4 separate regions of the Homo sapiens genome follow, and regions 2, 3 and 4 are each linked to region 1. Evidence: promoter capture Hi-C in 16 types of primary human blood cells and fetal thymus (Javierre and others, 2016). All regions are on one chromosome and are shown on one strand. The core of a region is centred on a gene start or on the middle of the fragment in contact, and the rest is flanking DNA. Distances in the headings are between cores, read along the strand shown. Region 1 holds the start of ARHGAP18 (Rho GTPase activating protein 18). Region 2 overlaps LAMA2 (laminin subunit alpha 2). Region 3 overlaps LOC105377999 (a long non-coding RNA gene). Region 4 overlaps LOC105377999 (a long non-coding RNA gene).

Evidence for each region. The method cuts DNA at HindIII sites, captures the fragments that hold promoters and counts their contacts. A CHiCAGO score of 5 or more calls a contact.
Region 2: a fragment that was not itself captured here is called in contact with the fragment with the promoter of ARHGAP18 in region 1 in 1 of 17 cell types (monocytes); the score reaches 5.1 in monocytes.
Region 3: a contact is called between a fragment that was not itself captured here and the fragment with the promoter of ARHGAP18 in region 1, in 1 of 17 cell types (erythroblasts). The highest score is 6.0, in erythroblasts.
Region 4: a fragment that was not itself captured here is called in contact with the fragment with the promoter of ARHGAP18 in region 1 in 3 of 17 cell types (M0 macrophages, monocytes and M1 macrophages); the score reaches 6.0 in M0 macrophages.

Annotation. Positions count from the first base shown.
Region 1 is chr6:129,708,145-129,715,508 of GRCh38, reverse strand. It overlaps ARHGAP18 (Rho GTPase activating protein 18), which reads left to right and starts at 5,332. Exons shown (of 15, transcript NM_033515.3): 1 at 5,332-5,485. The coding sequence starts at 5,373. RefSeq lists a silencer at 4,979-5,058. The HindIII fragment of the contact is 10,321 bases long and covers 1-7,364 here.
Region 2 is chr6:129,486,963-129,493,473 of GRCh38, reverse strand. LAMA2 (laminin subunit alpha 2) reads right to left here. Exons shown (of 65, transcript NM_000426.4): 57 at 1,397-1,573; 58 at 991-1,159. LOC102723409 (a long non-coding RNA gene) reads left to right here. Exons shown (of 8, transcript XR_001743860.2): 8 at 1-992. Among named protein-coding and RNA genes, the nearest start is that of ARHGAP18, 220 kb to the left of the region's middle. RefSeq lists an enhancer at 1,703-2,902. The HindIII fragment of the contact is 1,601 bases long and covers 4,189-5,789 here.
Region 3 is chr6:129,931,557-129,938,431 of GRCh38, reverse strand. It overlaps LOC105377999 (a long non-coding RNA gene), which reads right to left. Exons shown (of 8, transcript XR_942986.3): 6 at 708-820; 7 at 408-591. Among named protein-coding and RNA genes, the nearest start is that of TMEM244, 74 kb to the right of the region's middle. The HindIII fragment of the contact is 188 bases long and covers 5,120-5,307 here.
Region 4 is chr6:129,892,094-129,899,461 of GRCh38, reverse strand. The region is part of intron 4 of LOC105377999 (a long non-coding RNA gene); the gene reads right to left. Among named protein-coding and RNA genes, the nearest start is that of TMEM244, 34 kb to the right of the region's middle. The HindIII fragment of the contact is 2,288 bases long and covers 3,082-5,369 here.

The sequences.
Region 1 (7,364 bases), core at 4,083-6,582:
GTGGAAACAATTTTAGATATGATGGCACAATGATGATGACCTTTTAGACTAGTGTATATATTATGCCACACTACCCCAATAATTTGACATAAAAAAACAAGTTTCAAAGTACCAGAAAAGAATTGAGTGTAAATCTCCATAGCATTGTATTTATATCAATATTCCATTTGATTAAGGACCTTAGGTTTGCTGTAGATTATTTAACTTTGTTATTCATATGATTCTTTTCAGAAATAAAATGATGTCAATTCTAGGACTGCTGTAACCTTTATAATGCTTAAGAGCTCAGGCTCCAAGGTCACATAAACCCAGGTTTACATGTCCTGGTTCTGCCACCTACTAACTGGATGACCTCATATTCCTCATCTCTAAAGTGAGCGTAATTCCAATTTCTATCCCTGGTGGTGATTGTGATGATTAAATGATAGACCATGTATACCATGTCTAGCGAAGAGTAAGGACTCAATATTAGCTATTGTTATTTATTGGTAATAAACTATTTGTAAGAAACATCTTTTCTAAATGATTGCCGAAAAGCCTAAATTAGCCTCTGGCAATAGCAGTTACAAATTATCCCAAGCATGGCTAGTATTTTCTCGCAGGAGGAGCAGTTAAGAAAATAACTTTGAGAATAACGTAGACATTTTTAGAGCTGTCCAGAGAAAGGGAAAAGGGTTATTTCTTGTTGTTCCAGAGACAGAATTAATAACAATGAGTGTAATTCCCAAGGAAATAGTTTGAGATTCTGTATATGGAATAATTTTCAGTCATAGTACCCTAGCACAGAGGTAGCTAACTTTGTAAGCTGACAAGAACTATTCCTACGAGGTCCTGATAAAACATGAGGTAAGGGATGTTAAGAACTCTTCCTCTTCATTAGTCAATCCTGCTTCATATGTCTAGCCTTTATCACCTATGTAAAACTTTAACTTCACAGTTGATTAATTTATTCAAGTTCTTGTTATAATATTGAAAATTGGGTTTAATTTTACCATTTGGAAGGTCATTTTCACATGGCTTTTGTCCCTATGTAGATTTTCATCATCATATAGAGATTGTGTGTACATATTCTCCTTTAATTCTTTTTTTTTTTTTAAGAGAACTAGACCAATTCAGGAAAAATTTGATAAATTATATGCTGATTCCATTGCATGGCACTCTTCTAATACAATTCCTTCTAATACTAAATAGGCTCCTAAATCAACATATAAAAACCAGCTAATAAACTCTTTGCTACCACTAGCACTGAACTGAAGAAAAATTTTTTCATTGTTTTTGAACATGGGTGTCAAATTGTCAGAGACTGCAGTACCATCTTCACCCTATTTTTAACAACCTATTTGGGTACATAAATTACCGCTTCCTTTTCCTTTCCTGTGTCATCTAGTACACCTCATTTAAACAGAATGAATGAAATGAATGTTTAAACTGTCTTGATGTTGTTAATTACTTTTTAAGATGTTTCATAACAGGAAAGTGTTTGGCACGCACTCAATAGCTGGGAATATTAACATCTTCAAGGTCATGAGGTTCTCAGTGTGTGTTTAAAATGGTTGCGGAAAGGAGTAAAAAAGTGTTTTGTTTTTTTTCATAATATTTGTCTCTGCAAAAGAGCGATAATGGTATAAGGGATGGACATGAGCTAAACCTTAGTACAGTTTACAGTGTGAAATAAGAACAGGTTTTTTTTTTTGTTTTTGTTTTTGTCGTTGTTTTTCTTTTTTTCTTTTTCTTTTTTTTTTTTTTTTTTGAGACGGAGTCTCGCTCTGTCTCCCAGGCTGGAGTGCAGTGGTATGATCTCGGCTCACTGCAACCTCCGCCTCCTGGGTTCAAGCAATTCTCCTGTCTCAGCCTCCTGAGTAGCTGGGATTACAGGTGCCCACCACCACGCCACCCGGCTAATTTTTGTATTTTTTAGTAGAGACGGGGTTTCACCATGTTGGCCAGGCTGGTCCTGAGCTCCTGACCTCAGGTGATCCACCTACCTTGGCCTCCCAAAGAACAGCTTTTTAAGAGACCACACTGGTAGTTAGGTTTGCTTCTTTGATGACATGGGAAAATTCTGAAAACTGTTTTTAATCTACTTGAGCATGTATCTGAGGCTATGAACACCAGGCCACAGTCCTACCAGCTCTCTGCCTGTGATAGGTAATACCCTTCGACCAGTAGCAACAGGGCTTGGTGGGAGGAAAGGAGAAAAAGCTCAGAGGATTTTCAGGTATTTGAGAGCTAAATTAGAAGGATTCAAATTTTATGTACTAAGCTATGTAAATCAATTTGTATCACATTTGGTTTTCTGCCTCACAGAAATTAAAAACGGTGGATATTGCAAACCCAAATATTATTTTGACATTGTAAAACAATTACATTTCAACCTGTACATTGTGATTTGTTATTAAACAAGTGAAAAGACCATAATTAGGCAAAAATATAACTAAATAATTGTTTTGGCTATAACTGGACAAAATCTTCATCGCAAACTGTCACATGAGAGATGCAGTGCCCGTGGCTGCCAATGGGCATGGATGACATTGACAGGCTAAAGACATAGCAAAGGAAGAAGGAAAACTAGAAAAAAAAGGAAGATAATAAAAAGGGAGGTAGAGGGAAGTAAGGGGGGAGAAAAAGGTGGGAGGGAAACAGAAAAGAATTTCCAAAAGATAATGTAGTGATTACCATCAATAATTGTATAAGATAGTGATTCCCATATGTTTGCATTTCAGAGTAGCTACATAAAAAAGGAGGGGTGGATGAGCTGGTTATTAACATTTTTTCCATGTAAGGACACTGAAAAGACAAAACACATATATTCTAATTTACTTTAATCTTTGCCTCCCTCTCTTTATAGTTTTTGTTTTGCCTGAACTGATGAACATTTCCTCATAGGTTAGCACTGGTATGTGCATGGGAACCGCTTATCTAATATTACCAATTTTAATATAAAGATTTAGTAGAGTTGGCCGGGCGCGGTGGCTCATGCCTGTAATCCCAGCACTTTGGGAGGCCGAGGTGGGCGGATCACCTGAGTTCGGGAGTTCAAGACCAGCCTGACCAACATGGAGAAACCCAGTCTCTACTAAAAATACAAAATTAGCCAGCGTCGTGACACATGCCTGTAATCCCAGCTACTCGGGAGACTGAGGCAGGAGAATCGCTTGAACCTGGGAGGTGGAGATTGTGGTGAGCCGAGATCATGCCATTGCACTCCAGCCTGGGCAACAAGAGCGAAACTCTGTCTCAAAAAAAAAAAAAAATTTAGTAGAGTTTTAAAGGATACTTTCAATTCATTCAGGTTTTCCTCCATTCAGTGTTTACTGAAGGCTCAGTAGGTACAAAATTTAAGTTAGCTGTCAGATGAAGAGAAAAGAATCATAGTAGGACCTGAAAAGATTGTGTCTAGCAGATGGAAAGACTTGTATGTATAAGGTAGCAGGAATGCCCAGTGATCTGCTCAAAAGCCTGGAACTGGCTCTGTTAGCAATAGAGAGCCAATGAAGGTTTTTAAGCGAGGAGAGGGATCATGAGTGCCAGGGTGTGATCATAATGTCAAAGCAATTTAAAGGAGGTGACAGGGAGATGAGCTAAAAGGGCTGTTGTAATATTGGAGCTAAGACTGCATTATAGGATCCAGAGGTGGTTGAGGTCATGGGGATAAAAAGGAGACAGCAAGTAAAGTCCTATGGAAGTGGAAATGGGAAGGTTGAGCAGTTGTGCAGGGGGGAGGGAGGAAGATATAAATTCCTTTTAAGGAAGACTTTTGTAAATTATAAGAAAGAGGGTTCAAAAATAAATTTCAGATACTTCTAGAGTATGTAAGGAGGAAGAAATTATTTTTCATGACTGTTTTAAATAATGATAAGGTATAAGCAATAAGTTTATGTAATGATGGAATTGGAAACTTGTTCAAGAGGAATTCTAGAGAGTTGAATGAATCATAAAAATCTAAAAAAACCTTCAGACTACTGGGTATGTCAGAGTAGAAGCCAGGCGTGGTGGCTCATGCCTGTAATCTCAATACTTTGGGAGCTTGAGCCAAGAGGATTGCTTGAGCCCAGGAGTTCAAGACCAGCCTGGGCAACACAGTGAGACCCTCCCTCTCCACAAAGCATAAAAAAATTAGCTGGGCGTGGTAGTGCATGCCTGTGGTCTTAGCTATTGGGGAGGCTGAGGCTGGAGGATTTCTTGAGCCTGGGAGGTTGAGGCTGCAGTGAGTTACAATCACCACTGTACTCCAGCCTGGGTGACAGAGTGAGACCCTGATTCAAAAACAAACCAAAAAAGTGATTTTTTTTTTTGGAGGGGAGATGGGGAGAAAGAACAGAGCTGTCTTTTGTGTTTATGATAATTTTGATCTTGTTTCTTAATCTGCAAAACAAAGAAGAGCATACTGGTGAAAAATAAAAGGAATGTAGCCTAGAATTCTGTTCAAATCCAGCTTCTGGCACTAGCAACTGTGTTATCTTAGTGAAGTTACTTAACTCGTCCCTCAGCCTTACTTTCCTTGTGTTATGTATAACACAGATGATAGTGATACCTATCTTGTACGGTGTGTGTGTGTGTGTGAGAGAGAGAGAATTGAATGGAATGAGATAATACATGTGAAACCCCCGTCCATGAGAGCTTGGCATATAGTAGGTGCTCAACAAATGGCAGGGACTTCTCTTGTTCTCAGCAATAACACTTAACAGAGCATTGGTAGGTCTATCCCTTTTTGGTGCTGAAAAATATTTTGCTAAAACAAGACGTATATTTGAGATTGGCTTTATGTGAAAGACGACGACATTCCAGGACACACAATTTTTATGAGGGCATTTTTAACCGGACACAAGGATCAAGCCTTTCTCGTCGTCTGGATTGCAGAGTTTTGCCGCGGGTTCGTTGTTTTTTACTATGGCTAATTTTAACGCTGAACATGAAGGGGTTAAGAAATGCCTTTACTCATGTTACATTAAGTAGCAGAAATTATAAGATAGAGGAATTGGGGAGGGAAAAAAAAAAGCCTTGGCAGCAACTCATGGTTTCCTAAGTAAGACGGCTTGTAGTTACAGTGATGAGTTGAATATACGTTCTGGCAGTTTAATCTGATCAGACTAACTTGGGGGTGGGTGCAACCCGTCGCTTCCACCCTTCGCCTCCTTTAACCAAAGCCGCCCAGAGTGCAATTGTCCAGAGTTGAAACCATGCTGTGAGTTGCAGCTTCTAATTGGAGAGGCAGGAAGCCCTTCCCTGGACAGACCCCGCCCCTCCCCGTGTGAATCGCCAGCCTGCGGGGAGGAGCTGGCCAATGCTAATGAGCGAGTTGCCAGGCGAGACAGGAACTTCTTTCCCCTTCTCTGTGTCAGGATCGCAGAAAGTATGTCCCTTCTCTCACCATGAGCTGGCTCTCCAGTTCCCAGGGAGTGGTACTAACAGCCTACCACCCCAGCGGCAAGGACCAGACCGTCGGGAACAGCCATGCAAAGGCAGGGGAGGAAGCCACCTCGAGGTAAGCCTTCGGAAGCTGAAAACAAAACAAAACCCTCTTACCTGCTCCAGGAAGAAAGTGACAGGGAAGTTGGCGTGGGGAGAAGGGAATTCCATCTGCACGTCGAGCCTGAGCTCGTGCAGCAGCAGTAGCAACGTTTGGCGTGATTTTTATGTACTTTTCATCTCACCTAGTCCAAGTCTGAAATAACCCATATGATTACTGGTGAAGACAGAGAAGAAGGAACTGGGGAGAGGGCTATATGGGCTGTCAGACTAGCTATTTAGCAGGTGCATTTGCACATGCTGAAAGATCAAATAGGTCTATCTGAAACACTTCCTTTCCTATGAAATGGAATTCTTGAATGGGCTCAAGGCACTGCCACTGGAACTGTTCGCTGGGAAAGTCTGCCAAAAAGCAGGGAGGCTGTTCACTGTACTGTACAAGCTGTTGTTGTTAGAGTGTTTTTTTTCCCCCCTCTCTTTGCTGAAAGCAAACCTCTTAGGCAAAAAGCCCAAGACACTGGCCTGTGGCAATATGTTTCACATTCTTTTGTGTATGTGGATTTTTTTTCCCCCAGGCTTTCAAAAAGGAGTTTTTGTCAGGAGATAGCACTCTGCTGCTGGAGTGAAATGTGGTTAATGTTAAATCACTTTATAGGCAGAGAGGGCAAATGTTCTATAGACCACTGAGGCGCAAAGGGTACCTTTCTCCCTATCTGTGTACTTTGTTCCATTTTCCAAGGGCTTTTTTTTTTCTTTCTCTCCTTAATGACCTTCTCACTAGCTGAACATTTTTACCTCCATCAAGATATAAATAGTAAATATTGGCCTAGAAGATTGCAAGAAGCAAATACTAACCTAATAGCCTAGAACACTAAATTAGTTATCGGTAAGCACATTTCCTCCTCAATGCTTAATGTGATAATAAAACCTTCTTTGTTCTTATGTGACTTATGCCTGTGCCTTAAGCTGAAATAATGCTGCCTTTCATTTGTTTTAAAATCTCCAAATATGAGGGAGGGAGAAAAATCAAAGGAATGGCTGTAATACTCAGTGTTAGACTCCCAGCTGACGGGAACTGTTTCTCACATAGCATCCACAGTATGTATTTCATTGAATGAATTCATTTCCAAAGATAAAAAAGATTTGGTGCTTGTGCCTTAGCTGTGTTACCATTTCATTTTCCATCATTTTAAATGACTTAATGTTAAATCATTAAATCAAGAGATCTTGAAGTGTTTTCATCCATTTTTCTGTAATGTATTAGTAATCATTAAGCAGTAAAGCAGCCTGCAACACCAACCCCATACCCAGCCATAACTTGGATTCCACATGTCAGTCAAAATTGCCAAAATTATACAAGCTCAGGACATTCTCCGACTTTAGGCTGAATGGCCTGAGGACCTGAGCTGAATCTTGGATCTTGATTGTGAGAATGGAAAGGACCTTAAGGACTGAGTCCTAACCTCTCATTTTCACGTAGGACTCAAACCCCAGGGATTAGTTAAGTTTTTGGAAGGTCTGGAGTTCTAGGCCTTTGTCTGGGGCTGCATCTCCAGTTCTGGAGACTCATTATTCTGTGTTTGCAGTGTGGGTGGCCCATACTTGAGTGGGTTGAGAGAATAAGAGAGGATCAGATCATTCTCTGCCTAGGCTGAAGCAGAACCAAGAGGCACTAAGGTGGCAGGGTGGGCAGCTGCCCACACGGCAAGTGCCCTGTGTGGGGCCACAGCTCCAGGTGAGCTCCTTTGCTGGCTGTCACGTAGCCTGCCCATACCAGACCCAACTTCCCACCACTGAATTAGTTCTAGGGATCGTTCCTGATATTGACCGGAGAAGATGGGAGCCTGGTTTGAGGGCAGGGAGGAAGGAGGGAGTAGGGCTAGTTTTCAATGGCT
Region 2 (6,511 bases), core at 3,740-6,239, 220 kb after region 1:
CCCTGAAAGCATCCGATCTTTTCTGATCTCAAAAGCTAAGCAGGGTTGGGCCCGGTTAGTACTTGGATGGGAAACTGAGAAATAGATTGGACAGGTAGCTTTCCCAAATTCACACAGATGGTCGGTTACAGTGCTGGGATTTGAATACCAGCAGTCTGACTTGAGCCCATGCTCTAATCAAGGCTATATGACCTCCAATACTATAAAATAGTTGTGTGTCTCTGTGTGTATATATACTTAACATAAAATCATATTAGACATACACATTTATATGATGTTTAGATACAGTTTTTATTTATTTATTTATTTTTATTTTTTGGAGATGGAGTCTCGCTCTGTTGCCCAGGCTGGAGTACAGTGGCGTGATCTCGGCTCACTGCAACCTCCGCCTCCTGGGTTCAAGCGATTCTCCTGCCTCAGCCTACTGAGTAGCTGGGACTACAGGTGCACACCGCCATGCCAGGCTATTTTTTTGTATTTTAGAAGAGACGGGGTTTCACCGTGGTTGCCCAGGCTGGTCTCGAACTCCTGAGCTCAGGCAATCTGCCTGCCTTGGCCTCCCAAAGTGCTAGGATTACAGGCGTGAGCCACCGCGCCTGGCCTAGAAACAGTTTTAGTGGTGTATTACTAGTTTCTAAAAACAGGACACCAAATTGTATACAAGGTAGGACATCTACTATGCAGATAAAAGGGCCTGGAAACCAACATGGTTGCCTCTGTCATGGTATTATAAGTGTCTTTTATTCATGATTCTGGATATTTCTGTGTTTTCCAACATTTCAACTGAAAATGTACTGTTTTGTAAACAAAATTGAAGATGGAAATATAGGTAAGTCATTCAATGAAGATGTAAGAATAGGTTTAGATAGGTTATATTTCTTTCAATTCTAATATCAGAGTGTACTAGATATCCTGAATAATCTTCCTTCTGAAATGACTCAGAATACTGGGTAAAAATTAGAAAGCAATGGGGATAATATAAACACTTACATGTGTCAGAACTGGGGTGGGCGTAGGAAAGGCTGGGGTGGGAACTGGCTCAGGCTGGATAACTATTTCAGCTGGAGCTGCTCCATCTTCATCTTCACGGAGTTTCTGATGGGCACAGCGACCAATGTCAGCATTTTTGAAGGACACAGGCCTTGCAAAGTCCATGGGGCTAATAGAATGTAATAAATAAGATTTTTTTATTTTCGTTTTTTTGCTTCCTTACAATTAAGCCCAATCCCCGCATGCCTTTTTAAGTCCATTAGTGTGCTTTTCTCAGTCTAAGTTGAAGATCCTCATTGTTTCCCTCCTCCCCTGCATAGCTGTAGACAATGTAGATGCATTGGGACCCCTAATAGCAAGAAATAAAAATAAAAAATTAGTAGTAGTAATGAGGAGATCCACTTACACAGAGTTAATAACAAGATTCCATATGCAGCCTTCAAAAGGAGGAATATTTCTGAGTGGGGAAGGTTGAAATTCAGGTGGAGCACCCCCAACGAAAAGCTTTTTAACTTCGATAGGCTGTTCAACTGTCAGGTTTTGCATGTATCTTCTGTTTTCATCCACTTGAACTGTAAAGATGCTGATAAAATATTAAAAATAAACAAGTATAAGTCACATCTGATTCAATACAGTTGGAAATCAAATTCTTTCCTGCCACCCTTCACCCCTCTCAACCATAGCTTTTAAGGGAGCCAAAATTGGATGCTTAGGAATTCTACACTAAGCAAACGCTGTTCTCAGGATCTCGTTCCATGACTCCCTCGTTCACTCTTCCTGAAAGTTTACTGAAACCAGGTCATGGCGCACTGCAACATTAGCCTCTTGTAGAGCTGACAACAGCGCTGTGCAGCCCAACACATGAGCCTGTGAGAACTGAGGCTTCTGCAGTGTGCAGTAATGTCTAACCGTATAAGGGTTGGCAGGTTTAGCAAAGCATGGGGTCTTCCTTGGGTTGTGCTGGCTATTATCTTCTTGCTAGGGAACAAACCATGCTCCTGAGAGCTTAGATTGCAGGAATCAACAGCAAACACTTAAAGCACCTTTTATAAAGAATGTAGCTGATGGCTTTTGAATAGAAGAGGCAGGCAAGGACACCCTGCTAATTGTTCCTTGCAATGATTTTCCTTAGTGGCTGTTTCATTAATTTTCCTAATTTGCTTATGAGAGAGAACTCACACACTGCTAATTGAGAACCTCATGCTACTTATTTACAACAATCCTTGGATCCCTGGGCCAAGAATCAGAAGGAGACAAAGAGTTCTGATGAAAATGACCAAAGGCATTTTCTCTTTTGTTCCGGAAGCAAGTTTTGAGTTTCGGTCTTAACAGTCATCATGGTGCTATTAGTCATAAGCATTAGTCACTAGCCTGGGGATCATGAATGGATTACTGAAAACTTACTTCATATCTGGAGAGAAAACCGGAGTACTTGGATGGAAACCTCAGTCCTAAAGTACCCTCTTACTTGACTTTATAAAGAAGTAAAACCACATGTAGAACTGGAAAAAACAATAAGCCAGGGTAAAGATGCTCTGAATTGGCACTTTACAAGTAAGATAATTCAAAAGTAAGAGAAAGGGACAAAAAATGGATTTCGCTGTGGCTCAAAAACGTCACTGTTAAGGGGGTGAAGAAGGGACCGGTAAAATTTAGTTTCAAAGAGAAAATAGGGGGAAATGACATACTTTTGAGGTTTCTTTCTTTACCAAACTATGGAAAAATGTGTTGGCAAAACCCAGGAGGTTCAGCTTCCTTGCTAAGAGTGTCGGTGGTTTCCTGAGACGAGAATTTCAGAAAACCACTCACTTCCGGGTATGTGTGACTCACTGAGAAGCCCCTCCCCTACACTCTTTTTCCCCTTTAGCTGAAAGCAGCCTCTTCTTAGCAACATGATATCACAGGGCTTCTAAGGTTTTAATGAAGGATATAAGCCTCTGTTAAAGATTGTCCAAGGAGAGTAAATCTCTGTTCTTGATTAGAATTTTAAAAAGCTAGAGGCCTTCCTCTTTCTGGTGTAGCCTCTCTCTGTAGTGTGGTTCTGCCACAAGGACCATCATAGTGACCCTTATTTTTTTTAAACCAATTCACAGGGTGGTGATGGAGAATGAGTGTGGGCTTTCAGGAGGAACATACTGGAATTAAGTACTAGTGTGGAAGCTTACTAGCTGTGTGACCTTGGGCAAGTTATTTAATCATGCTCAGGTCCATTTCATTCATTTATAAGATGGAGATAAAAATACCTACTTCAAACAGCGGAAAATATTAATTAAGGGATTGCCCTGAGGCTGTATTACTTAAAAAGGGCATTGCTAGAAAACTACAGCTAAATCCTGCTCCTATTTTACCTTTTAGGAACATCAAATCTAGATCATTTCTTTAGTTTTTATTGAGAAGGACATTGCCAATATGTCCATTATGATTCTGGTGTGTTTTCCATTTTTAAAAAGTATTTATTTAACAGCTTTTTACTGAGGCCTGCTATGTGCAAAAAGGTACATTAAACTTTGTATTACTTTAGTATTGTAATAGGTCAGCTTTATTTTTTTTTTTTACAGTTTCAGTGGCTGATTCTTAGAGTTTCATAATTACTTGATTACTTATACCCTATTTCTTATTTGTTTGGAATGTGGGTTTAAGATTTTTTTTAAAACCATATCAGTTGGATTGCATACGTGGAAGAAGATATTAAGAGAAATGTGTCCTAATGTTTGTAATTTACATAATAAATAGAATCTAATCTTTTTTCTGTTTGAACATACTTTGGATGTTAAGAAAGAAAATATTTAGGGTTCAGTGTTAAAATCTTTATCTCATTCTGGAAACCCCAAATGACTCCTAAAATATCTCACCCTACTTCCTGACCTTTAGCCTATTTCTGTACCTGTGTGAAGAAAGCTTTCCCAGAAGAAAAACTCAGTTCAGTTGCTTGTCCTATTTGCTTAAGTAACTACTTCAGGCTCTTAGGGTTTGATGTTTTTGTCCAGTAAGAACTGCTGGCCACCAAGGCGGATGCCAGGAGAAGGATCAGAGGACAAAGCAGATATAGGAGGCAGAGGTCACTGGAGTGCCAAGAAATTAGATACCAAAGTGACTAAAGGGAGATTTTTCCAGATGAAGGGGTGGAAGGGAGAGAGAATGAGGGAGGAGGAGTAAAGAGAGGCAGAGGACAAGGGAGAAGGAGCTTCTTGAGAAGCTTGGCCCCCAGTTTGGTGAAAATCCAATTATTTTGTGAGGCGGTATTAAAGCTATCATTTTGTCCAGGATTTTAGGAAAAGAAATGATGACTGACATGCATAGTCTGAAAATCTGAAAAGTGTTGGGATAATGCAAATATCTCCAAATTAATAATCATACATCATAATCAACATTTAGTAATATAAACCTTTATGGTCACACAAAAATGTAAGAATAATCTATTGGCTGTGCATAGATGGAGGTATTTAAGTCAAATATATCATCTCATTTAATACCTGGTCCTGTTATTTGTAGTACATGATTTTGGGCAGGTTAGTTAATATTTTCTCATCTGTGATGAAAGGATGTTATTACAGATCTCACATACATTCAGAACAATGAAAACAAATCATCTTTGTCTAGTATGTGACACAAATCATGCCATAGAATAGGCATATAAAGCATTAAAAATTTTTTCTGGGTGAAGTTCTCATGGTCACTTGCGATCTCTGGTCAATCAGTTTAATGTGGCACTTGCTTATAGAGTAGATTGCATTTTAACCTTAGAGTGCCGAATGAGCCATTATGGTAGCAAATGTATTACTGTTTTGGCACAGAGTTCAGTGACTACACACTAATATGTCATATATTATCCTGTAATTAACAATGAATGGCAAAACTGTTCGTTTATATGGCCAATTAACTAAATGACTGGTTTCCAGTGATGTACTATATACTGAGCTTAATCAAATAAAGGTTGGATTGATGGTCAACAGCTGTGAAGTTGGCATAATAAAATGCCCTTCTTGAAGAAGCACCTGTTAAAAGGACATAGTGGCATAGTGGTACAATAGTGTAATGCATTTGGGAATTCCAGAATTCTTTCTCAACAAAATAACACATTTTGAGTGATTTCGGTAAACTAATTTCTCAAATCTGCAGTTACTTATTGAAATTCCTTAAAGTTTAAATGTTTTTGTTTTGTTTTGTTTTTTCCGAGTTGGAGTCTTGCTCTGTTGCCCAGGCTGGAGTGCAGTGGTGCGATCTCGGCTCACTGAAACCTCTGTCCCCCTGGTTTAAGCATTTCTCCTGCCTCAGCCTCCAGAGTAGCTGTGATTACAGGCGCCTACCACCATGTCTGGCTAATGTTTTTGCATTTTTAGTAGAGACGGGGTTTCACCATATTGGCCAGGCTGGTCTCGAACTCCTGACCTCATGATCCACCTGCCTTGGCCTCCCAAAGTGCTGGGATTACAGGTGTGAGCCACCACGCCCGGCTAAAGTTTAAATCTTTTAAAAAGTCCTTTCCGCAATGAAAAGGATTAAAGTTTGTCAAAGGGCCTAACATCTAATCTAGAAGACATGTGAAACCAGGATTCTAAAGCATTCTAAGATTCAAATGAGAGCATTCAGTTTGCATTTCTCCTCAGAGACCATGACTACAATATCTGGCTGTTAGATTAGTAAAAGTTCTCAGTTTGTCCAAATAAATGATCCCTCATTTGTCTCGATCATGGTTTCTAAACGTCTCAGTAGCCATTCTGCATGAACGCTTTGTATCAATTCATCCTACAGCCTAATCCTCTACCTAATAATAATAATAATAAAAACTGAGGAAAGCTTTGTTGTTTACTTAGAAGGTAAGAAATCTTTATTGCTTATCTAAATGTTTTCCCCAAGAGGATAATTAGTAAATGTAGGTCTTTCACTGCAGGATAGTATTGGCTTGGCTGAACTACTGCTACATATTCATACTCGTTGCATTTAAAAGTATCCTCTGTGTTTTGAGGCCTCATCAAATTGGATTTCCAGTTCTTTTCTATGTCTTCAGTCTGATAAATGGATTGCTGGCTTGGAGGTCTGAACCCCTGAAGTCTCTGGGCTTCTGTTTCTTTTTTCTCTAATTGTCCTTCTAAACTAATTATCTCTCTGAGTTGTCATACAATATTTTGATGAAAAATACAGATGACTTTCCTAATAAAGTAAGTATAAAGTATTGCAGCATTCTAAAGAAAGTCATCAGTTTGTGCATGAGTAAAGCCAATTCCCTGGCCCAGGGCTGGGGCAAGCACTCTGGTAGATTTGTAAAAAGGTGGCCAGGCTCAGGGCAGCAGTCATTTTCCTCCCCTCCCTTGATTCTGTTCCCTCAGAAAGCCACTCTGCAGGGACCCTGCAAACCTTGGGAAGGGGGACAGGGACAAGATATGCACTTAATAGGCTCAATAGGTCCTGCAGCTGCTGCCACACTCTGTATCTGTGACAGCTAAGCAGCTGCCATAACTGCTTTGGAACCTGAATGAGATAGAAACCGCCAAAGCCTGCTGGCTCCAGTGGAGCTGATTTG
Region 3 (6,875 bases), core at 3,964-6,463, 220 kb before region 1:
CATCTTGGTTGGTTTCTAATACCATTCTCAAATGAAATGAACCAGAACGTGAATAAATAGCTGATTCTAAGACTGGGGCAGGAAATATACAAGATGAGCTTGGAGCATCTTGTAGTGTCAGGAAGTAAAGAAGTGCTTCAAAACCAAAACGATGGGAGTGTGTCAAAGGGAAAGGAGAAGTCAACCTCAAGGAACACCCAATGGCCCAAACTAGAACAATTTGAGCATCAAGATAGATAGTGTAGTAACGGATTGTAATCCAAAGTATAAAATAAATATTCATGAGTTCTTCCAATATAAATAGCTGAATAAATAAACAAATGTGGAAAAGAGACAAATATACGGAATTCTGGGTAACTTATGCTCATAGTTCCTACTTAAGGAAGTGAGTATAGCTCTCTACCTACCTCTTAAGTGTGGGTTTTGCATAGTGACTTCCTTCCAAAGGGTATTACAGGCAAAGTGGGAAAAAGAGTAACTTTCCAATGGAGAAATCTGGAAAACATTACGTTGGCCAGATGATCAAGGTTAACAGAAGATCATGGTTATTAATAGTAACAGGTCATGTTGACAGTATGAATACTTGATGTTCTGTGAAGAGAATGGTACGTTACCTCTGTTGTCTTCCTTCCAAGTAACCAGAACCCCAGTCCAATCATGAGAAAAACATCTCACAATCCCATATTGAGGAACGGTCAACAAAATACCTGACTAATACTCTTCAAAACTGCCAAAGCCTTCAAAAATAAGGAAAATCGGAGAAATTGTCACAGCCAAGAGGAACACAAGAAGACATAATGTCTAAATGTAATATGCCATCCTGGAACAGAAAAAGAACATTAGATTAAAATTAAGCAAATCTGAATAGAGTACAAATTTTAATTAATAATAATGTATCAATGTTTGTTATTTAGTTATGACAAATGAGCCATGGTAATGTTAGATGCTAACATAGAAAATTGGGTACGGGGTATATGGAAATTCATTTCTTTGCAAATTTTCTGTGAATCTAAAACTGTACTAAAATTAATAATTTACTAAAAAAACGAATCAAATATCTAAAAGCAGCAAGAGTTGATACAGTTATTTCAATAAACGACAATACGTATGTAAATATTAAATAAACAAAATTGATACTCTATTTTGATTCTACTTACTATCTCACTACTAGATTGTGTAATGTGCTTCAGTTTAGTGTAAATCCCAAATATTTTGAAGTCTAAACGATAATATAATATTAACAATAAAAGTTCTTGAGGTACTCTTGTGTCTTTTCACCCAACTCTGCGCTTACCCCACTCACTAAACTAATTTCAGGAACTTTAGGCATTTTGAAAAGTTTTTTTAACCATATGGCTATTAAAGATGTTGTATATTGTTGTTTAAAATATACTTTCTGATGTGAATAATTCTTCTATTATCATATTTTCCCCATTTTTAAATGTAGTTGGTTGTTACTCTGTGTTACAGAAACAATGTTAGATTTCAAAACTTCCCTGTCTATACAGTGTAGTCACATTTTATGCAAATTTCAAATAGTGAAAAATAAACATATTAATAAAGTCTCAGTTTATGCACCAAAGTTTAAATAATCTTAATTCCTCAAATTAAACATTGATGAATCATGTTTAAAAGCTGACGGATCCAATACATTTTAAATTGTTTACACTATTACCACGTGGTGGCGCCATGTCAGCTGGTGAATGCAAAGCCTTGGCAAACCTTGGATTCCTCCTAAATTGCCTTGAGGAACTCTGACCTCGTCGGAAGAGCCGTCTATGTCCTGACTCTATCCTCCATTTTACAGGAGAGATAACTGAAGTCCACAGAGTGAAATTATTCCCCCACTTCCACACAGTCTGTTACTGAGCCAGGAATAGAGTGTACTTCCTATCACTTGGCTCTGTTCTCTCTGTCTCTCTCACTTTCTCTATGTGTGTGTATAGATATATACACAATATATAGTATACACATATTACACATATATAGTATATGCTTATATATACTATACATTTATGTAATATATAAATATATATTTACCTCATATAAGATATATAAATAATATAAATAAATATCATAAATATATAATATATGATAGGTATCTCTAATATATAAAAAATATATTTATGTAATACATATACAAAATTATATATAATATAGATACATAAGTATATAAGCAAAAGAAGTACATATACATTCATATATTTAATTTCCACAACAACAAATTTTATGGAGTAAAATGTACCTCTTAATGTCACTTTAAAGTTCATGCATATACATATCCAAAATATATTTATAAAATCTTGACTAAGTACAATTTTCCTTCTTTAGGTCCCTGTAACTTTCTATGCTGTGATTTTTGCTTAGCAAAATTTTTGTTGATACAACAAAATTTAGGAGCCATTAGAAAAATGAGTTAGAATCACACAGTTTTACTTAGAGGTATTTTCCCAAAGTATTGTTAAATGAAAATATAAAAAGCAAAAAAAATTTGTATTAGCATAATTGCATGTTTATAAACCAAATAATGACAAAATTAAAATATCCTGCAGAGTATGTACATAAATGTACAAGTCGTATAGAGGCATTTGAATGCAGTAAAAGTATGGAATAATTAATGTAAAGTTTATAATATGAGTTATCTTTGTAGGGGGAACAGGGAAGCCACATGAGGGGAAAAGTAGGAGAGACTAAGGAGAAAACCACATAAAAAGTGGAAAAACATTGCACACATACAAAATGCCTATATGTGATCACATTTATATAAAGTTATATTTATGTAAATATATATAAAATATATAAATTTAAATAGTTGGTTTTAAAGGTACTATAAATAAGGACACAAGAAAAAAGAAAATCTAGAAAAACTATTGATGGTAAAAAATGATAGTTAAGGTAGCAGGTACCTAATCTCCTAAAATAAAAATCTTTCTACAAAGCAATTAAAAATAAGACAAAAAACAATAACCTAATAGAAAAAAATGAGCTAACACCACAGCAGGTAGTTTACATAAGGAAAAACACAAATGGCTTTTACACATCTGTGAAGATGTGTAGTCTTATTCATAATCAGGCATATGAAAACTAAATCTGTAAGAAATTTTGTTTCAAATGCATCCTATTGGCAAAAAATTAATATTTTCTAAAGCCAAGTTTGGCAAAACTGTGAAGCAAGAGGACTCTTCTATACTGTTGATGAAAGCATACATTGGAACAGTTACGTTTGAAAGCAACTTGGCAATATGTAGTAAAGCTGAAGAATCCAAACCCTGTGACCCAGCAGGTCCCAGCAGGTCTGCTCCTATGTCGATGAAGAGATGTTTACAATGATGTTCATAGTAGCATTGTCACAAAGAGCAAAAATTGGAAACAGCCTAAATGGACCATCAATAGTAGAATAAATAAATGGTTATATATTCATTCAATGGATTACTGAGCAGTAGAAAGTGAATGAATCTGAGCTGCATAAATATCATGAGTGAATTATCACAAAATAATGTCGAGGACAAAAAGCACACTGCAGGATGAATACTTGCAATATGACACTATATGAAATTTAAAAACATGCCAACTACTTATATGCACACACATATACACAAATATATGTAATTTGGGAGTAAATAAATGTGTTGCAAGATCTACATAAATACCTGAAAATGATAAATGTTAAATTCAAGGTAGCAAATACTTCTGAAATAACGAGATAGAGAAATTCAACTAGGGAAGGGTATACAGTGGCTTTCATCTGATTGGTAATGCAATTTTTTTTGACAAATAGTATATCTTATATTACTTATTTCATATTTATGATAGATTTATTGTGTTTATAATCATAACACTATATTAGTTATACTCATATTTTTGTTAATATTATTTTATAGTATTTTTAAAAGATACTCAACCCCCTCATAAGAATAGTCCTTCTTGAAATGACAACAAGAAACTATTTTTCACCAATCAGAATGCTAAAGATAAACATTGTAATAATAAACCGTTCTGGCAAGAGTTCAGGGGCACAAGCACGTTCAGTAATTGTTGGGAGAGTACATTTGTAGAACTTTTAACTATGGGATGATTTGGCAATGTTTATCAAAATTAAACGCACATTTGTACCGTTTTACCCAACTCACTTAATAAAATTTTCTCTTTAAATACACTCCAGCAAGAACACAAAGGTATGTATACAATGCTGTTCATTGCAATGCTGTCTGTGATAGCAAAGGGGCAGGTAAGATAAATGTGCTTCATCCATGCAGGAATGTTATGCAGGATGCAGGACATTAAAAAAAATGTGGTACCCACTCGATAAACTGATATGAAATAGTGACTAGGGTAAATAGTAAAAAAAAAAGCGAGGTGAAGAACATTTGTTGGGTAGTCTAACTTTCTGTAACATGGGTTACCTGTACAATTTAGAACTGGGGCTTGGGTAGCGGAGGCCAAAGAGATGAATTTTTAAAAAATATTTCCATTCATGTGTTTTCAACCTTGTATCTCTTGTGTGCATTACCATTAAATAAACTTCAAAAGAAGCAAATAAAAGAATAAATAAGATTTAAAATGAAAATAAAAACAAGAGATGCAACTCCTACATTTAATTTCAAAGATAGTATTGTCACTGTAACTTTAGTATTTTAATGAAGTCACATTACTTGCTTTATATCCAAGGCCTAAGGCTTCAATTAATTTACGGGTAATCTATTGACCAAAAGAGGAAAGTCTCATTAAAAAGTAGCATTTGTTGAGAGGTCCTAGGCCCAAAGGAGGGGCTTTCTTACCAAGACAACACACTTCCAGTTCCTTCTCAGAAGGGGATTAGGGACCATGATGATAAATTTTAATAATTTAGGTGAGGTCTCACTATTAGAGTTTTAAAATCAATTAATTAAGCTGTATCCCTGTTTGTCCTAAAAAAATTTCAAACCAACTAACAAATGAGCACAAAATACAACATAATTCAGTGAATTAAAAACAAGTGAGAAAATGAGGCAAATATTCATTATTTTTTATTTCTCCTTGTAGCTCTTGTTAATTTTTGTTTTATATACTTTGAGGCCATGTAAATATTATAGGTACATATGAATTTAGAATTGTTAAACATTCCCAGTGAATTGAAGCTTTCTTGTTATTAATTCTACTACTGCCTTTTGGCTTAAAGTCTGTTATCATTGCTAGTACAGGCTGAGTACCCCTAATCTAAAATGCTCCAAAATCTTAAAGTTTTTTAGCACTGACATGACACCGCAAGTAGGAAATTCCACACCTGACCTCATGTGATGGGTCACAGTCAAAATGCAGTGAAAAGCTTGTTTCATGCACACAGTTATTAATAACATTGTACAAAATACAATGTGTATAAAGTGTATATGAAACAAATAAATTCTGTGTTTAGCTTCAGGTCCCATCCCCAAGATATCTCTTTATGTACATATAAATATTCCCCAATTCAAAAAAATCTGAAATTTGAAACACTTCTGGTCCCAAGCATTTTAGATAAGTGATAATCAACCCGTAGTAGAGTTACACCAATTTTCTTTTTATTTAATTTGTGTGATTTTTTTCCCATTCTTTCAACTTTTCTGTTTTGTTATATATAGGAAACTACATATGGTTGCTGTTTTCTTAATATACATTGCATTTATGAGGTATGTTGTTATTGTTTCTTAGTCCATTCTGGAAGTCCGAATTTTTTTTTAATATTCGGTCAATTACCTTCATTTAATTATTTATATTTGTATTTACTTTTGCCATCTTACCGTATACATTTGATTTGCTCACCTATTTTACATTTATTTTTTTCTCTCATTTATTGAAGCCCTAGGATAAACCCCTCTTGGTTATAGTGTATCATCCTTTACATGTATTTCAAGATTTGATTTACTTATATTTTAAAAATAATTTTGTGTCTACATACATGAAGAATATTGGTCTGTAATTTTTTTGTTTCTCTTTAATGTCCCCCTCCCTCCCCTTTCCTTCCTTTTCCTCTCCCTGTTCCTTCTTCCCTTTCCTTCCCTCTCCTCCCCTCCCTCCTCTTTCTTTTTCTCTCTCTCTCTCTCTTTCTCTTTCTTTCTTTTTCTCTCCTTCCTTCCTTCCCTCCCTCCCTCCCTCTTTCTTTCTTTCTTTCTCTCTTTCTTTCTCTCTCTTTCTCTTCTTTCTTCTTTCTTTTTTGAGACAAAGTCTCGCTCTTTCGCTTAAACTGGAGTGCCGTGACGTGATTATAACTCACTGCGGCCTCAACCTCAGGGGCTCAAGTGATCCTCCCGCGTCAGCCTTGCAACTAGCTACTACAGACTTATGCCATCACACCTGACTTATTTTTGTATTTTTTGTAGAGATGGGGTTTCACCATGTTGCCCAGGCTGGTCTTTGCTCAAGTGATCTGCCTGCCTTGGCTTCCCAAAGGGCTAGGATTGCAGGCATGAGCCACCAGGCCTGGCCTCTTTTTTTCTCTTTTGAACATAATTGTCAGATTTTGGTATCACTGCTTTGGTAGCCATATAAAACAAGTTGGGAAGTATTCTTTTCCTCTATTTTCTTAAATAGTTTATGTAAGAGTGTTGTTATTCCTTCCTTAAATGTTTGATAGGATTCACCAGTAAAACTGTCTGGGCCTTTGTGGGAAACTTTCTGATAAGTAATTAAAAATTTTAATAGATGTAAGACAACTCAGATATTATAATTATTATAACCCTATATTTGTTATTATATTCATGTTGTTTGTTACTATTATTTCATAGTATTTTTAAAAGATTTTATTTCATATGGTATCAGTTTGGGTAAACTATTTTTGTCAAAAAATCCATCTATTCCATCTGAACTACTGAATTTATTGGTGTAATGTTATTTATAATATTCCGTTATCATCCTTAAGG
Region 4 (7,368 bases), core at 2,976-5,475, 190 kb before region 1:
ATTTAGGTTAACTGTGTTTCTCAGGGCCTACATTTGTAAAAACGAAAAACAGAAGTGCCATTTTTAATTTTAGTAATGAGTAATGATCATACATAGATACAGCCCCATTTATTTCATTAAAAGATGCATTGCCAATAAATTTTATTCAACACATATTTATCAAAGTTTTAATAAATGTTTGGATCAGTTGTGCACTAATAAAAACGATAACTCAATCCAGACTGAATTTTTTTAATGCTTAGAGCCTCATGTTCACAAAATTTTTAAATTTCAAATACTATACTGAAAGTGTTATAGGCTAATAAAAGACTTTTAAGCATAAAAATGTATCATAAATATATAGGTAAAATTCTCGTGAAGGCATGGATTAGAAGTATGTGTAGAAAGAGTCAAGGAAAAGCTTGTTTATATATTTGCATTTCTATAGACAGATAAAACTGTTATGGTAACAAAATGTTTGACTGGATATAATTTAAAAACTGAAGTTATTGCTTTATTTTTAAATGCTGGTGTTTTAAACATATGGATATGACATATTCTCCATTTTTATTTTTATTATTTATCTTATTTTATTTTACTTTTAGACAAGTCTTAGTCTGTCACCCAGGCTAGAATGCAGTGGTGTGAACAGAGCTCACTGCAGCCTCAACCTCTCGGACCGAAGCAATCCTCTCTTATCCTCCTGAGTAGCTGGCTCCACAGGTGCACACCAACACATCCAGCTAGTTTTTAAGAAAGTATTTTGTATAGATGGGGTGGGCGCATCTCCCTTTGTTGCCCAGGCTGATCTCGAACTCCCAGGCTCAAGTGATCCTCCAGCCTTGGCCTCCCAAAGTGCTGGGATTATAGGCATGAGCCACCCACCATGTCTGGCCAGAACTGAGGCACTGAAAACAATGCCCTATTTCTTACTGTGAGTAAGGAACTAAGGTTTATATCTTTTGGTTCTATCCAAATTCCTCTGCCTGTGCTTACGGGCTGATCCCTAGAATTGCATGGTTGTCTAATTTTTTATGGAAAAACCATCTTTTCTTTTCTCATACTGGAAATTAAATTGTAATTTGATCTTATTTAGACCAGGTAGCCAATAAATATTTGAATGCTGTAACCAAGGCAACTAACGAGCCAGCCAATTGACCAGTCAATCAATTATAGATGAATACAGATTTCCAGAAACATTTCAAATTTTATTTCTGTCATCAAAGTGCCTACAATACAGCATGGCAACTGTACTTACAATTCAAAGAAGTGAGGTCTAAAAGTCATTATTTGAGTTTGAAATGCAGACAGCAATATTTGGTACAATACACACTTTAACCAATAAGTATACACAACATATATGTATATGTGATATATAAACATATGTATGTGTATGCATATATAACTGTGTGTGTGTGTGTGTGTGTGTGTGTGTGTGTGTGCACGTGACCCTTGAACAACACAGGTTTAAACTACTATGCAGGTCCACTTATATGCGAATTTTTTTCAATAAAAGTTACATAAAGTGCGCCTGCCTCTCCTGCCTCCCCTTTCACCTCCTCCACCTCTTCTGCCTCTGCCAGTCCTGAGAGAGCAAGACCAACCCCTCCTTTTCCTTCTCCTTCTCAGCCTATTCAACATGAAGATAACAAAGATGAAGACTTTTATGATGATCCACTTCCAATTAATGAATAGTAAATGTATTTCCTCTTCCTTATGATTTTCTTAATAACTAATAACCTTTTCTCTAGCTCGCTTTGCTTTAAGAATACTGCATATAACACATATGATATGCAAAATATCTGTTAATAGACTATGTTTTTGCCAAGGCTTCTGGTCAAGAATAGCCTATTCGTAGTTAAATTTTGGGGGGAGTCAAATGTTATCTGAGGGTTTTCAACTGCAGGGCATTAGTGCTCCTTGCCCCCAAGTTGTTCAGGGGTCAACTGTATGTTTTTATTAAGACAATTATCCTCTCTAAGGCTGGCTTCAGGGTATGGTTAGCCACTGGTCCTGCTAAACAGTATAGGTAGTAGAACAAATATAATTCATATCTCAGGTGATCTGCTTACAGGGTAACAACCTCCAACAGAGGAAAAACCTTACACAACGGAGGAGACCAGCAAACAAATCTGTTTCTACCACTTGCTTGTTGACACATTCAACGAGGAGCAGTTAACTCATCTTACTCAGCAGATATAGAACAGTTTAGGTGTTCTTGAAATCACATGATGAGTTCTACATGTACTCACGCTACATGGACTCAAAGATGCCTACTAATTGTCTGCAGCAGAACCTTTACAACACAATGTCTCAAAGTTAGTTTGCCAATGATAACCCAAAAGTGCTCAATCTAGAATTTATTTCCTTCATTAAGAAATAATTTGAACTTAACTGTAACTTTACAGAGTAAATTATTGAATTTGGCTTCTGATAAAAATAGAAATTCTGAATATACAGCATCATTTGTTTCATTTTGGATAAAAATTTAAAATGAATATCCTGAGATTGCTGAAACTGCCTTAAAATCTTTTGTTTCATTCCCATTAACATAGCTTTGTGAGACTTGTTTCTCTACTATCAGTTGTTAAAATTAAAGTAGGTCTGGCATCGTGGCTCACGCCTGCAATTCCAGCACTTTGTGAAGTCGAGGATGGCGCATCATCTGAGGCCAGGAGTTCAAGACCAGCCGAGGCAACAAAGTGAGATCTCTGTCTCTCCGAAAAAAAAAAAAAAAAAGCCAGACATGGTGGCACACGCCTGTGGTCCCAGCCATAAGAGGCCAGAGAATAGCTTCAGCCCAGGAGTTTGAGACCAACCTGGGCAACATAGTGAGACCCCCAAGACCCTCATCTCTACAAAAAATAAAATATTAGTGGGGTGTGGTGGTACATGTCTGTAGTCCCAACTACTTGGGGTCTGAGGTGGGAGGATCACTGAGCCCAGGAGGTCAAAGCTTCTGTGAGCCATGATCGCATCATTGCACTCCAGTCTGGGAGACAGAGTGAGACCCAGTCTCAAAAAAAAAAAAAAAAAAAGAAAGAAAGGGAAAAAAAAAGAAATTAAAGTAGATTAGATATGTTAACAAGTAAGAAGCAAGCTTACTTGTCACATTAAAAACTGTATGTGGGTAGTTTAATGTATGTAAATAGTGTTTAACTTGGGAAGTTGCTTTTCATTCATATTTTTGTTTAGTTACAATTGTGAAATGACAAAAAGTTATTGGCAAAACAGTGATTTTTCTGTATTAGTTGTCTACATACATATTTTCACTGAATAATATGGATAATTTTTGTAATTCTTTCATTTTTAACATTTGTTCCAATGGCATTAATTAAAATATAATTTTATGTCTACAGGATCTAATAATAAAAAATTGGAATTATATCTTATATGTCTTTTAAACTTTGTTCATTTTATTTATTTTTTAATAACTCAATGTTATTCATATTTTCTAAAACCATTAGTTCATGACTGATTCAGAGTAAAAAACATACACACAAAAAAACTGGAAGTTAGCCACACTGAACTAGGAACTGAAAGTCTCACTGAACTAAGAGACTTTCTGAGTCTCTGTTTTCTGTTCTATGAAACAGGAATGTCAATACTTTAGAAAGATACTGTATAATTGAATAAAATCATGAGTAACACATTCCTGGTCTCTATTAGTCATTCAATATATGTAATCTTTTATGGCATATGCATTTAGACTATTTTAATAATAATATCTAGCCTCCATAATGTTATGTACTATTCTACATTCTTCCTGTGTATTAACTCATTCAATCCAAGTCCTGTGAGATGAATAATATTATTAGCTTCATTTGACAGGTTAATAAGCTAAGGGCCATAGTCAGTTTTCACTAGGTAATGCTGTAATAAGAAACAACGTCAAAATTCCAATAGCTTCTAACAATAAATACTTATTTCTCACATATATTATTTTGGTGGCTGCACCTCACTTTCCTTAGCTCTTCTCTGTGGGTCTTCTCATTCCAGGCCCCAGGCTGAAGGAGTAGCCCCCTCTTCTGAGGGGACACATCATTTCCTTGGAAGAGGGTAAAAGCAAGAGAGATGGTGGAAACCCACTGCAGATCTTGAAGCTGCTTGCTAGATATAGTATACACCATGTTTACTCACATACCACTGGCCAGAGCACACTCATGGCCAAGAACAAGGTCAATAGAACAAAGAAGTATCATCCCCTTAGAAGAAGGAGAAATGATTATTCAGGAGCAATAATAGTCTGTCACAGTTACGCTGTCTTTTTTTGTCCCTTTTGTTCTGCTATAACAGAATACTTGAGATTGGGTAATCTCTACAGCACAGAGATTTATTTCTGAAAGTCTTGGAACTAGGAAGTTCACGGTCAAGGGGCCCACATCTGGTGAGAATTGTCTTGCTGCATCATCCTATGATGGAACGCAGAAGGGAAAGAGGGCATGTGCATGAGAGAAAGTTGGAGAGTGGGGGAGAAGGGACTGAACTTATTTTATCAGGAACCTACTCCTGTAATAGTGGTGTTAATCCACTCATAACTGCAGGGCCCTTGTGACATAATCACTATTTATTTATTTATGCATTTATTTATTTGAGATGGGGTCTTACTCTGTCACCCAGGTTGGAGTGCAGTGGCACAATATCGGCTCACTGCAACCTCCGCTTCCCAAGTTGAAGCAATTCTCCTGCCTTAGCCTTCTGAGTAGCTGGGATTACAAATGTACGCCACCACACCCGGCTAATTTTTTTATTTTTTTATTTGTAGTAGAGACGAGGTTTCACCGTTGCCGAGGCTGGTCTCAAGCTCCTAACCTCAAGTGATCCACCTGCCTTGGCCTCCCAAAGTACTGGGATTACAGGCATGGACCACCACACCCAGCCCTAATCACTTCTTAAAGGTCCCACCTCTTCAGGCTGTTGCTTCCAACACATGAACTTTGGGGGACACATTAAAGTCACAGCACACAACTTGTGAGAAATTATGCTAATATTCAAACCTAGCAGTCTAGCACTGAAGTCTATTCACATAGCATCATCTCTCCTATTCCCAAGAAGGTTGCATCAGATGGAGAAAGAAAAATCCCAGCAGTGCTTTCTCTCTCCTATATCCAACATGGTATAAAAATTGATGACTATATAGAATCCATGAAGCCAGACAGAAAGCCCAAGGACAAGAAGTTCAAGGTCTCTCAGGCCTATAGAGTTTCATCATCAGTGTATTTTCAACCATAGAGAGAGATGCCTAACTTGGAGAGCACAGATGAGATACTTAATAAATGTCCATGTTCCAGTTCCAAATAATGACAAATGTTAGAATTTAAGGTCAGTATCTGCTATTCTCATTCTGTTTTCTCTTTTCTTTTAAATGTTACTTAAGACAAAAGAAAGCTTAACTCCTCAAAAAGTACATTTGGCACTGTACTGTTAGGCTTGTTTCCAAGTAGTAATATTATTAACAATATGCTGAAGATACTGCATTAACCATCTATTTTGCACTGTCTCATTTAATATGCATATATGATATAGTGCATTTATAATTTTCTCTTTTGTTTAAGTCTATGTGTAGATTGTTTGCCACCTAGTGGCAGTTGTTTTCAACTCAAACATTAATATTCATGACCAATTCTAATTAGTTTGGCAATGTGCTTTTTTTTTTTTTTAAGGAAAGATTCCAAAGTCATAAAGTGTTTAAAAGTGTTGACAATGACATTATTCTGCTCTAGCAAACTTTAAAAAAAGTACCTTGCAAATTTGGTTCATATTTAATCCTTGACAATGATAGATGAGGCAGTGTATTCAGAAGTCATTTCCTGTTGCAAGAAGAATGTAGAGAATGATAAAATGAACATTTCAATTTTTAGCAAATAATACTAGGATGTTCTTTGGATGTGTTGGTTTTCGGTTTTACATTCAGTATTGCTTGGCAAAATATATACACATAGCTACTAAATTGACTTATCTCATGCGTATGTTCACCTATGTAACTTAAAAGAGTTAATCAGTTAGTAGTGATGTTTTAATTGTTAACATTTTATTAAAAGTTATCTAGTCAAAATCTCATAAGAGCCTAGGCAGCAGGACTGAAATAATTTCCACAAATAATATAAAAACAACATTCCACGTTTTACAAAAACATAAAATCCCAAACTTCCGTATTTAATGTATTTGAATATATTAGAATGGTAGGAGGAAAGAGACATGGAATCATGAAGTGGATATAAAAGGGAACAAGTGAAGGAATGAATTAACGACTAAGCTAACAGAAAGGAGCTTAGAGGCAGGGCGCGGTGGCTCACACCTGTAATCCCAACACTTTGGGAGGCCGAGGTGGATGGATCACCTGAGGTTAGGAGTTCAAAAAGGGGCTTAGAGGATAATGTGTCTTGAACTGAAAACTCAGTGATGATGAAGATCAACTAAATCTCTAAATGTGAGGTCCAAACAATAATGAGGGTGGTTTTACATTCAGGAATCAAATTTAAAAGTATTTTTTTCAAAAACGAAATTTTCCCTTTCAAGCAAAGGAGGTATTTCTCTGAAGTACAGGAGATACTTATTTTAGTTGGATGATTTGGGGTTTGGGATCGTTGTAAACAGTCTGAGGTTATTTATATTTCAAGTTCACCAGGTCTTGAGATTTTGAATATACGGTTATTAAATGGACAAAGTTTTGAACTGAAAGGTAACTGTCTGATACAAACACTTGGTAGAAATAGAATAAAAGAGAACAGAGATTTAACAACAACAATAACAAAAACCCCAGAGATATTTAAGGAGAGAAATAGCTGGCCCACTTGGTTTGGGTCAGCATTTCTCAAATGTTGGCTGCTTCCCCCCTCGTAAAAAAAAAAAAAAAAAAAAAAAAAAAGATGTCGGGCATTGCTCCATAGGAAAAGATGGTGTTGTTGTAGGGACACCACCTACTCTCTCCATTTTGCAAACTCACAGAGAGCATGAGCACATTAAAGTCTCAGAGATGGCCTGCATTAAATAAATAAGCCTGCTTGACTTCACCGAACTTCGTATTTCTTAGACTTATTTGACCAAATGATGTTTGTTCCTGCAAAAGCCGTTAACATCCTGAGTTTTGCAAACTTAGCCTTTCATGGCCGTTTCGCAAAACAGTAGTTTAGGCAGACTCCCCTCTGCTATCCTTTTGCGTTAACCTCCATTTTTCATTTCACAGGATTCTTTGTGACGCCTGTAACTATACGAATTTCCTTGAAAATACTCACAATCGTAAAAATAGCATATTCTTGAGAAATGGGACCAATAGGATATACCTTATAAGAGAAAGAGACATATAGGAAGCAATTTATTATAAGAAGTTGGCTCACGTGATAATGGAGGCTGAGAAATCCCAGGATCTGCGATCTGCAAGCCAGTGGT